Linked DNA regions of Homo sapiens: region 2 is linked to region 1. The links are contacts of gene promoters, found by promoter capture Hi-C in human tissues and cell types (Jung and others, 2019). All regions are on one chromosome and are shown on one strand. The core of a region is centred on a gene start or on the middle of the fragment in contact, and the rest is flanking DNA. Distances in the headings are between cores, read along the strand shown. Region 1 holds the start of TMOD4 (tropomodulin 4). Region 2 overlaps CA14 (carbonic anhydrase 14).

The links. The method cuts DNA at HindIII sites, captures the fragments that hold promoters and counts their contacts. A contact is called where the count stands out against the background at its distance.
Region 2: a contact is called between a fragment that was not itself captured here and the fragment with the promoter of TMOD4 in region 1, in 1 of the 25 tissues and cell types used here (spleen).

What each region holds. Positions count from the first base shown.
Region 1 is chr1:151,173,836-151,178,395 of GRCh38, reverse strand. It overlaps TMOD4 (tropomodulin 4), which reads left to right and starts at 2,415. Exons shown (of 10, transcript NM_013353.3): 1 at 2,415-2,472; 2 at 3,479-3,643; 3 at 3,849-4,005. The coding sequence starts at 3,521. It overlaps VPS72 (vacuolar protein sorting 72 homolog), which reads left to right. Exons shown (of 6, transcript NM_005997.3): 5 at 251-395; 6 at 1,365-2,092. The coding sequence ends at 1,752. The HindIII fragment of the contact is 10,118 bases long and covers 1-4,560 here.
Region 2 is chr1:150,261,627-150,266,758 of GRCh38, reverse strand. It overlaps CA14 (carbonic anhydrase 14), which reads right to left. Exons shown (of 11, transcript NM_012113.3): 3 at 5,121-5,132; 4 at 4,459-4,601; 5 at 4,139-4,234; 6 at 3,889-3,955; 7 at 3,560-3,717; 8 at 3,340-3,460; 9 at 3,080-3,100; 10 at 2,881-2,965; 11 at 1,681-2,166. The coding sequence ends at 2,100. It overlaps APH1A (aph-1A gamma-secretase subunit), which reads left to right. Exons shown (of 7, transcript NM_001077628.3): 6 at 103-226; 7 at 565-1,355. The coding sequence ends at 629. SNORD13C (small nucleolar RNA, C/D box 13C) reads right to left here and starts at 5,065; the gene lies at 4,962-5,065. The HindIII fragment of the contact is 1,504 bases long and covers 975-2,478 here.

The DNA of each region.
Region 1 (4,560 bases), core at 1,166-3,665:
CTCTGAGGTACTATAGAGGGCCCAGGTGTACTTGAGAAATGAGCAGAGAGGATGTCAAGAAAAAACTTATAAGCAGAAAACTTACAAAATGGGAGGTGCCAGACGGCCTTAGGGGACTTCCATAGTTGTCTCTGGTAGTTGGCAGTGACTAGATAGCCAGGAAGATAATTGAGAGATCGTGGGACAGTACTGGGATATGGGAAAAAGGGACATTCTGATCATCCCCTCATTTCTTCCTTTGACCCTAAAGAGACATATGAGCGGCTCGAGGCTGATAAAAAGAAGCAGGTTCATAAGAAGCGGAAGTGCCCCGGGCCCATAATCACCTATCATTCAGTGACAGTGCCACTTGTTGGGGAGCCAGGCCCCAAGGAAGAGAACGTTGACATAGAAGGGTGAGTGAATCTCAAGAGGAAAAGAGATTGTGTGTTCAGCTCATGTTCTCTTGGCCCCATTTTGCTTGCTTTTCTCACACAGCTCTCCTTAACACTTGGAGATTTCTTTCAGATTCCTAACTCCCTTCAGCTCAATTTCTTTTTCTTTTTTTTTTTTTGAGACATGATGCTGCTCTGTCACCTAGGCTGGAATGCAGTGGTGCAGTCTCGGCTCACTGCAACCTCCACCTCCTGTGCTCAGGCGATCCTCCCACCTTAGCCTCCCAAGTAGCTGGGAGTACAGCCACACATGCTAATTTTTGTATTTTTTGTAGAGACGGTTTCGCTGTGTTGCCCAGACTCCTGGGTTAAAGTAATCGTCCCGCTTCATCTTCCTAAAATACTGGGATTACAGGTGTGAGCCACCGCGCCCAGCCCAGCTTATTTCTTTCTTATTCCTTTTTCTTTTAGCTTCTCTGTTCTTCTCTTTCCTGTTTTTCCTTCTAGCCTAGCTTTCTTTTCCCATCAGTCACTTAGTACGTTCCTCAGAATGTTCCCAACACCCTGCCTCCTTTTTCTCTTTCCTCATCTCTCTGATTTCCTTCTTTCTTTCTTTTCTTTTTTTTTTTTTTTTGAGATGGAGTCTCGCTGCTCTGTCACCCAGGCTGGAGTGTAATGGCACGATCTTGGTTCCATGCAACCTCCGCCTCCTGGCTTCAAGTGATTCTCCTGCCTCAACCTCCTGAGTAGCTGTGATTACAGGCATCCGCCACCACGCCCGGCTAATTTTTGTATTTTTAGTAGAGACAGGGTTTCACCTTGTTAGTCAGGCTGGTCTCGAACTCCTGACCTCGTCATCTGCCTGCCTCAGCCTCCCAAAGTGCTGGAATTACAGGTGTGAGCCACTGCACCCAGCCTGATTTCCTTCTTTCTGTATCTGTTGTCTTCTCTCCTCAGCTCTTTGTGTTTTTCCTTGTCTTTTGTCCTCAGACTTGATCCTGCTCCCTCGGTGTCTGCATTGACTCCTCATGCTGGGACTGGACCCGTCAACCCCCCTGCTCGCTGCTCACGTACCTTCATCACTTTTAGTGATGATGCAACTTTCGAGGAATGGTTCCCCCAAGGGCGGCCCCCAAAAGTCCCTGTTCGTGAGGTCTGTCCAGTGACCCATCGTCCAGCCCTATACCGGGACCCTGTTACAGACATACCCTATGCCACTGCTCGAGCCTTCAAGATCATTCGTGAGGCTTACAAGAAGTACATTACTGCCCATGGACTGCCGCCCACTGCCTCAGCCCTGGGCCCCGGCCCGCCACCTCCTGAGCCCCTCCCTGGCTCTGGGCCCCGAGCCTTGCGCCAGAAAATTGTCATTAAATGAAGAGATGTCTAGTCCTCAGAAACTTCTTTCCTGCCCTGATTGGGGCTCTTGCTGTTCCGTTTCTTCTCCCTGCTTCTCCCCTTTGTCATCTCTGATCTTTGCCTAATCTGTTTCTTTTTCCTTTTCCCCTAGTTCTTACAGGTTTCGTTGTGTTTTTTAATCTAATAAAATAGAAAGATCCCTTTTGTCTGGTGTCCAGTCTAGGGTTGGGAGCAAGAAGTATTTGAATACCTGCATATATTTGGGTCTTTATTCGATAGCATTTATTATGAGCTGTCCTTTCTAAATTGTATTCATTCCTCCAACTAAATTATAAACATCTGAAAATTGCACACCAAAACACATCCTTGTATTGACCTTCCTATCACTTTACACTCACTGTTTTGAATACAGCAGGCACCAAATAAGGAGGAACTGGCTGATTCTAGTCGAACTCATATGTCTCAGACTGGGGCTTGTATGAAGGGAAGTGGAAGAGATGCCATGGCTGTTAATGACCACTAGAGGCTCTCAGGGCTGGGCAGGGTATGGGGGCTGTGTATATGTGATCTCCCACTACCCCCCACCTGGCCAGAGCTAAAATAATAAAATGCTGAGCTCACTGTTCCCCCACCCTCTCCCCCGGCACCGGGCTCCTCCTGCTGCTGGGACAGTGCTCTAGTAGAACAGACAGACCTACTGACACAGGGGAGGTGAGAAGGGAGGTGACCACCAGGACTGGTAGGTGGGGAAGACAGGGGGCTTATGGATGAGAGCCCGGTGGGAGATGGGAGGAGAAGAGTGGCTCCTATGGGGAATGATGTGGAGTGTGTCCCTGTCTCTGTCACTCAGTGTATATTTCTGCCACTGTGCCGTCCTACCCCTTAACTGTGTATAGTTTACATTGTCGATGTGTCTCACATACTTTCTGGATCTTTCATATTCAGCATGGTGTGTATGCATAGCTCCTTATGCGTATCTTATATTGTACAAAATTGTGCGAGTTTAATATTCCCACTGTTTTTAAAGAAACTTTACCCTATTTACACCCATTGGTCTGGTGTCACCTTCCTGTCCAAAGCAAGGGACAGATTATGGGGACTCACAGAGGCCTTACTACCCTTCCCCCAACCTGGAAGTCCCCCAACTGCTCCGAGCCCTTGCTTTCCCTTAAGACTTCAAATTTTAGCAAACACAGAAAGTGAAATCTTGATCCCCCACAATAAAAGGGAAATGAGGATGGGGTAAGAGACTCTCTCTTCCCCTTACACCTCATTGTCCTTGGTTTTTTTATCCGGTTTAGGAAAAAGCCTGGATTATGAGGAGGAGAGGAGGAATTTCCCTGAAGCTCTCTATTCCCCCACCCCTCATCCCCTTTCAATAGGAACTGGGCATAGGACCAGCTGTGTTGGCAGGGCTTCCAGCAGCTGTGTTAGGGCGAAGGCACTGACAAGTGAGGTTATAGGGGAGGGGTGCTGCCAGGATTTCTCTGTCATACCGTGGGAAGACAAACCCAGCTTAGATGTCTGGGATCCCCATCCAGAGTGGCTGGAAGCTGGGGAAGCAGAAAGGAGACTCTAGTTCTAACTCTAAACAACCTAATCTTCCCCACTTCCCATCCTCAACTAGACTTCTAATCTCCAAGAAATCCAATCCAATGTTCTGCCCCCCTGGCTGGTCTCTTTGTGTCCCTGCTGTGTCCCTGTCCATCTTACCATTGTCCATCCTTTTGTCCCATGTTGCCCAGGCTCTGTGAGTACCACACAGTGGGGAGGGGGTGGGGGCCACCATGTCATCATATCAGAAGGAACTGGAGAAATACAGAGACATAGATGAAGATGAGATCCTAAGGACCTTGAGCCCCGAGGAGCTAGAGCAGCTGGACTGCGAACTACAGGAGATGGATCCTGAGGTAGGGGCTCCAGCACAGGGAACCAGAGGCAGTCCCAGGCATTTGGGAAGGGTGTTGGGCTCTGGGTGGCTGAGAATAGGGTTTGCTACAGGACCTAGGGTCCTAAGAAGGCCAGGGGAAAGGTGTCCGGTGATGTTTTAGGGAGCCCTAGCAGTACCTAGGTCAGAGGGGAGGTCTGACTTGCTCCCCAAAACTCATCCCTAAGAACATGCTCCTGCCAGCTGGACTAAGACAACGTGACCAGACAAAGAAGAGCCCAACGGGGCCACTGGACCGAGAGGCCCTTTTGCAGTACTTGGAGCAACAGGCACTAGAAGTCAAAGAGCGTGATGACTTGGTGCCCTTCACAGGCGAGAAGAAGGGTATGGGGACCCTGACATCCATGCCTCGTAGAACCCAAGTGGCTGTGCTGTCTCTCACTCGTCCCCACTCCAGTTTCCCTCTCACCTTCCAGCTCCTAGTTGCCTAGGGACTCAGATGCCCTGACACTTAAATGCGAGCTTGCACTCTTCAGTTCTTTTTTTTTTCTTTTTGTTTGAGACGGAGTCTCACTCTGTTGCCCAGGCTGGAGTGCAGTGGTGCAGTCTCGGCTCACTGCAAGCTCCACCTCCCGGGTTCACGCCATTCTCCTGCCTCAGCCCCCCGAGTAGCTGGGACTACAGGCGCCCACCACCACGCCCGGCTAATTTTTTAGTATTTTTAGTAGAGATGGGGTTTCACTGTGTTAGCCAGGATGGTCTCGATCTCCTGACCTCGTGATCTGCCCGCCTTAGCCTCCCAAAGTGCTGGGATTACAGGCATGAGCCACCGTGCCCGGCCGCTAATTTTTTGTATTTTTAGTAGAGATGGGGTTTCACCATGTTAGCCAGGATGGTCTCGATCTCCTGACCTCATGATCCACCCGCCTCGGCCTCCCC
Region 2 (5,132 bases), core at 477-2,976, 910 kb after region 1:
AATTTGAGAGAGATATCTGGGAGTCAGAAAGGTACAGAGAGAATATGGGGATTAGGTCGAGGGAGAATCTAATCTCTTTCCTACTCTTACCCTCCTTCCTAGACATTCCTGAACCCCTGGTATGAGGCCAGCCTGCTGCCCATCTATGCAGTCACTGTTTCCATGGGGCTCTGGGCCTTCATCACAGCTGGAGGGTCCCTCCGAAGTATTCAGCGCAGCCTCTTGTGTAAGGACTGACTACCTGGACTGATCGCCTGACAGATCCCACCTGCCTGTCCACTGCCCATGACTGAGCCCAGCCCCAGCCCGGGTCCATTGCCCACATTCTCTGTCTCCTTCTCGTCGGTCTACCCCACTACCTCCAGGGTTTTGCTTTGTCCTTTTGTGACCGTTAGTCTCTAAGCTTTACCAGGAGCAGCCTGGGTTCAGCCAGTCAGTGACTGGTGGGTTTGAATCTGCACTTATCCCCACCACCTGGGGACCCCCTTGTTGTGTCCAGGACTCCCCCTGTGTCAGTGCTCTGCTCTCACCCTGCCCAAGACTCACCTCCCTTCCCCTCTGCAGGCCGACGGCAGGAGGACAGTCGGGTGATGGTGTATTCTGCCCTGCGCATCCCACCCGAGGACTGAGGGAACCTAGGGGGGACCCCTGGGCCTGGGGTGCCCTCCTGATGTCCTCGCCCTGTATTTCTCCATCTCCAGTTCTGGACAGTGCAGGTTGCCAAGAAAAGGGACCTAGTTTAGCCATTGCCCTGGAGATGAAATTAATGGAGGCTCAAGGATAGATGAGCTCTGAGTTTCTCAGTACTCCCTCAAGACTGGACATCTTGGTCTTTTTCTCAGGCCTGAGGGGGAACCATTTTTGGTGTGATAAATACCCTAAACTGCCTTTTTTTCTTTTTTGAGGTGGGGGGAGGGAGGAGGTATATTGGAACTCTTCTAACCTCCTTGGGCTATATTTTCTCTCCTCGAGTTGCTCCTCATGGCTGGGCTCATTTCGGTCCCTTTCTCCTTGGTCCCAGACCTTGGGGGAAAGGAAGGAAGTGCATGTTTGGGAACTGGCATTACTGGAACTAATGGTTTTAACCTCCTTAACCACCAGCATCCCTCCTCTCCCCAAGGTGAAGTGGAGGGTGCTGTGGTGAGCTGGCCACTCCAGAGCTGCAGTGCCACTGGAGGAGTCAGACTACCATGACATCGTAGGGAAGGAGGGGAGATTTTTTTGTAGTTTTTAATTGGGGTGTGGGAGGGGCGGGGAGGTTTTCTATAAACTGTATCATTTTCTGCTGAGGGTGGAGTGTCCCATCCTTTTAATCAAGGTGATTGTGATTTTGACTAATAAAAAAGAATTTGTAATTGTGGGGGAACTTGGCTTTTAAGGGAGGGGATAGCATGTTAATTGAGATTTCTGTCCTCAGATCTCTCATCCAGCCACTTTCCTAACCTGGCAACCACTGATTTCCAAGCATAGCCTTGGTGCAAGGGCAGAAATCTGGGCTAGTGGTTTAACATGTCTGAAACTTTGGGTTAAGTGTCTTCCCAGAAGCTTATCTTTCCTTCCAGGGGTGGGATAAAAGGAGTTAATCACCCATGCTTCTTTTCCCCATCCTTTGCCCATCTTTACCACCTGAGGGATTCAGGAACTTGCCCACCCTCAAGAGCCTCAAAGGATAGGCCAGAATTAAAGTCAGAAACTTTAATTTCCAAATATATTGATCAAAAATATACAACTTCAACAGCAACTCTTTATCCTAAGGAGAGATCCCGCAGTATATCTAGGGAAAGGGCCATAAAAGTGAGGGGGTAGAGGACTTTGGGGTATATCCCAAACTTCCCCTGCAACTAAACAGAGTTTGTTCTCTGCATTAACAACACAGCGATTTCCTCATTTCCTCCTACATGTTTGGAGAGGCTGAAGGCTCTGCAGTTCTTCCTGGAATGACAGCCTGGGTCCATTCCTCTCTAGGAGATGTCCAGGGGAAGGAGGACATCTGCTTACTACTCCTACAGTGTTTCTGGCCAGATCCTACACCCCATTTTAGAGGCTTCCTGATAGGCATGAAGGGAAGTCATCCACATCCATGGTATCTGAGAAGGAATTTATGCCTCAGTCGTGGCTTGTGCTGAGGTGAAGACCACACTCTTTCGGTTTTCCAGCCTCTTCTTCCTGGAAAGGGGAATGGCTCATGAGAATGACTGCTATCTAAGTGAAGCAGATTAGAGGTGAAATAGGAGAATGCTTTTTAACAGAAAAGAGGGCTGGGCAAGGTGTTTCACACCTATAATCCCAGCACTTTGGGAGGCTGAGGCGGGCGGATCACTTGAGGTCAGGAGTTGGAGACCAGCCTGGGCAATGTAGTGAAAACCCGTCTCTGCTAAAAATACAAAAATTATCTGGGCATGGTGGCACATGCCTGTAGTCCCACCTACTCAGGAGGCTGAGGTGGGAGGACCACTTGAGCCCGGGAGGTGGAGGTTGCAGTGAGCTGTGATAAAGCCATGCACTCCAGCCTCGACAACAGTGAGAACCTGTCTCAAAAAGCGGGTGGCTCATGCCTATAATCCCAGTACTTTGGGAGGCTGAGGCAGGCGAATTGCCTGAGGTCAGGAGTTTGAGACCAGCCTGGCCAATATGGTGAAACCTTGTCTCTACTAAAAGTACAAAAATTAGCTGGGTGTGATGGTGCGTGCCTGTAGTCCCAGCTACTCGGGAGGCTGAGGCAGGAGAATTGCTTGAACCCAGAAGGCAGAGGTTGCAGTGAGCTGAGATTGCACACCACTGCACTCCAGACTGAGTAACAGAGCAAGACTCCGTCTCCCACCTACCAAAAAAAAAAAAAAAAAGAAGAAGGGACTGGAGGAATGGAAAGTAGGGCCTCACCGAATCTTTCTAGCAATGAAATAAACAGCCAGGAGAAGGCAGAGACAGCCAACCAAGATTCCTACACCTAGACTCAGCATTTCACCTGGGGGAGATAAAGGTAAAAGGTGTCAGCCTAGGACTAACATAGATTTTGAGCCTTTCCCCCACTCGGTGAGGACACCTCCCCTCCCCGCATTATCTTATAAGGCTGGCTTACCTGTGGTATACGAGGATCCTGCTGTAAGAGAAGAAAATGGGTCAGTGGGACTTCAGATCCCCATCCCAGCTGGGAGCAGCACTCTCTGCTGCTGTGCCTGGGAGAATCCCCCGGGGGCACCCTGGGGTGGGGGTTGGTTCCCAGTCCAAGCAAGTCCCAGAAACCCCCTCCCCTTTTAGCCTTTTCTTCCCATTGGCTCCCTAGTTCCTGCCATTGTGTCCCCCTCAGTTTCCCATCTCTTCTGAGCCGTGCAGAATCACCTTGGATGAAAGAAGCAAAGACCATGCGCTGATTGAGAGGCTGAAGGGCTCGGTAGTTCTGTACCAGAAGCTTAGAGGGCTCCTCTTCTGTGGAGAACAATGTCCCCTGAAGCTTTTCCAGCTGAGGAGCAGAAGCGTGGGAGAGGTGTTACTTTGGGGAGTGGGAAGGGGTCTGAAGTTACAACTGTGTCTCACCTCACCTCGTTTCTCCACCACTTACCTGTTCCATTGAAATCTGGGACCTTCTATAAAAAACTGTCCAGAGCACACTCTGGTAGCAAGGGGGAGTTGTGAGCGAGCCATTGTAGCGGAAGTACTGCCCCAGCTGTTTGGGGAGCAGCTCTCTTAGGTTGAAGGGAGGCACTGAGGTCTTCTGATCTGGGGAGAACAGACTGGGACTCATCTTCCTTTCAGTGTGCCCTAGCTTACCTAGATAGGGCTCCCAGAAGCAAAATTCCTTGGCTCTATGTAATTGCTTCATCCCAAGGCTTTTAAGGATAGTTTTTGAAAGTCTAATCTTACTTCCTGCTATAGATTTTTAAGGCTCACCTTTATGCCTGACTTCATGCAAGTGACTCAGAATGTGTTCATAAGCTATATTCTTAGTCTCACCCACCTGGAAGAGAAGGAAAGGGAGAGAGTTTGGAATGAGTCCATGTTTGGAATAAGAAATTTATGTACAGAATAAATGGTCAGGGTGGGCTGCTGCCTGCCATAGGAAGGAGGCCAGCAACAGAAATAGGTTTGAGGGTTGCAGAGGAAGTGGAGAGAAACCTGGAAGGGACTGGGGGCTACTGACCTCAATTAGGATGCCCAGGACAGCCAGGCCCTGAGGCCTCTCAGCAGCCTCACTCAAGCTGTCATAGGAATCAGAGTCATAATGTACAATGTGGAGCTAAAGGAAGGAAGAGGGAATTGAATCATGGAATGTCTGCACCCCCTTCAAGGCCTTGATCCTAGCTGCCACCATCCCCCCGCTGTCCCCGGCAGGCACTAAGTCTGTCCCTCAGAGATTGGCCTTATCCCCCCAGCATGACTTTTCCTAAGGTCCAGATCCTTTCCCCAGGACCACCCATCCCTGTTACTTTGTCTGAGTCCCAGCTCTTTGTTCCCTGGTACCTCTGCAAATGTGGCTTCACTGTTGATCTGGTGTTCTGACCCCCCTGGGGATCCTTTCTGACCCCAGTGCAGGTGGAGCTGGGCAGCTACATATTTTCGGGGAAGTCCACCCAGATACAGGGTAGAGGGCAGAGAGAGTTGCACTGTGAGGAAAAGAGCAAACTCGGATTGGTGGAGGCATGTGGATACATTCCCACTCCTGGGTTGCCACCACTTCTTGGGAGACTTGGCCCTCTTCCAGTTTTCTCCCCCAGTAGCACCCAGTTCCTCCCATAGGCCAGTGCTTTTCTAGCATATCTTCCTTTTTCTTGGTGAAGACCAAGTCAGTGCAATGATACCTACCTACTGAGCTTGGTTATAAACATTTCGATTCCCGCTTTGGCTACAGGATCCTGATCCCCATTCTCATATCTCCAAATTCATGGACAAAGGTTTTTGAGAATTCGTAGGTTAGGAAAATGCTGCTTTCCTCTGACTCCTGAGGTTATTTGTTTGTTTATTTATGTCAGATGGGTAATGTGCCAACATCTTGACAAGATTTGAGGGCGGCACATCTTACGCATGCTCAGGAACACCCCATCATCATGCCCATGAACTACAAAAGGATCTGACTCCTAAGATCTGAGCTGGAGCCTACAACTCCTTGGAGCCTGTGCTTTTACCTGTGTGGCCAT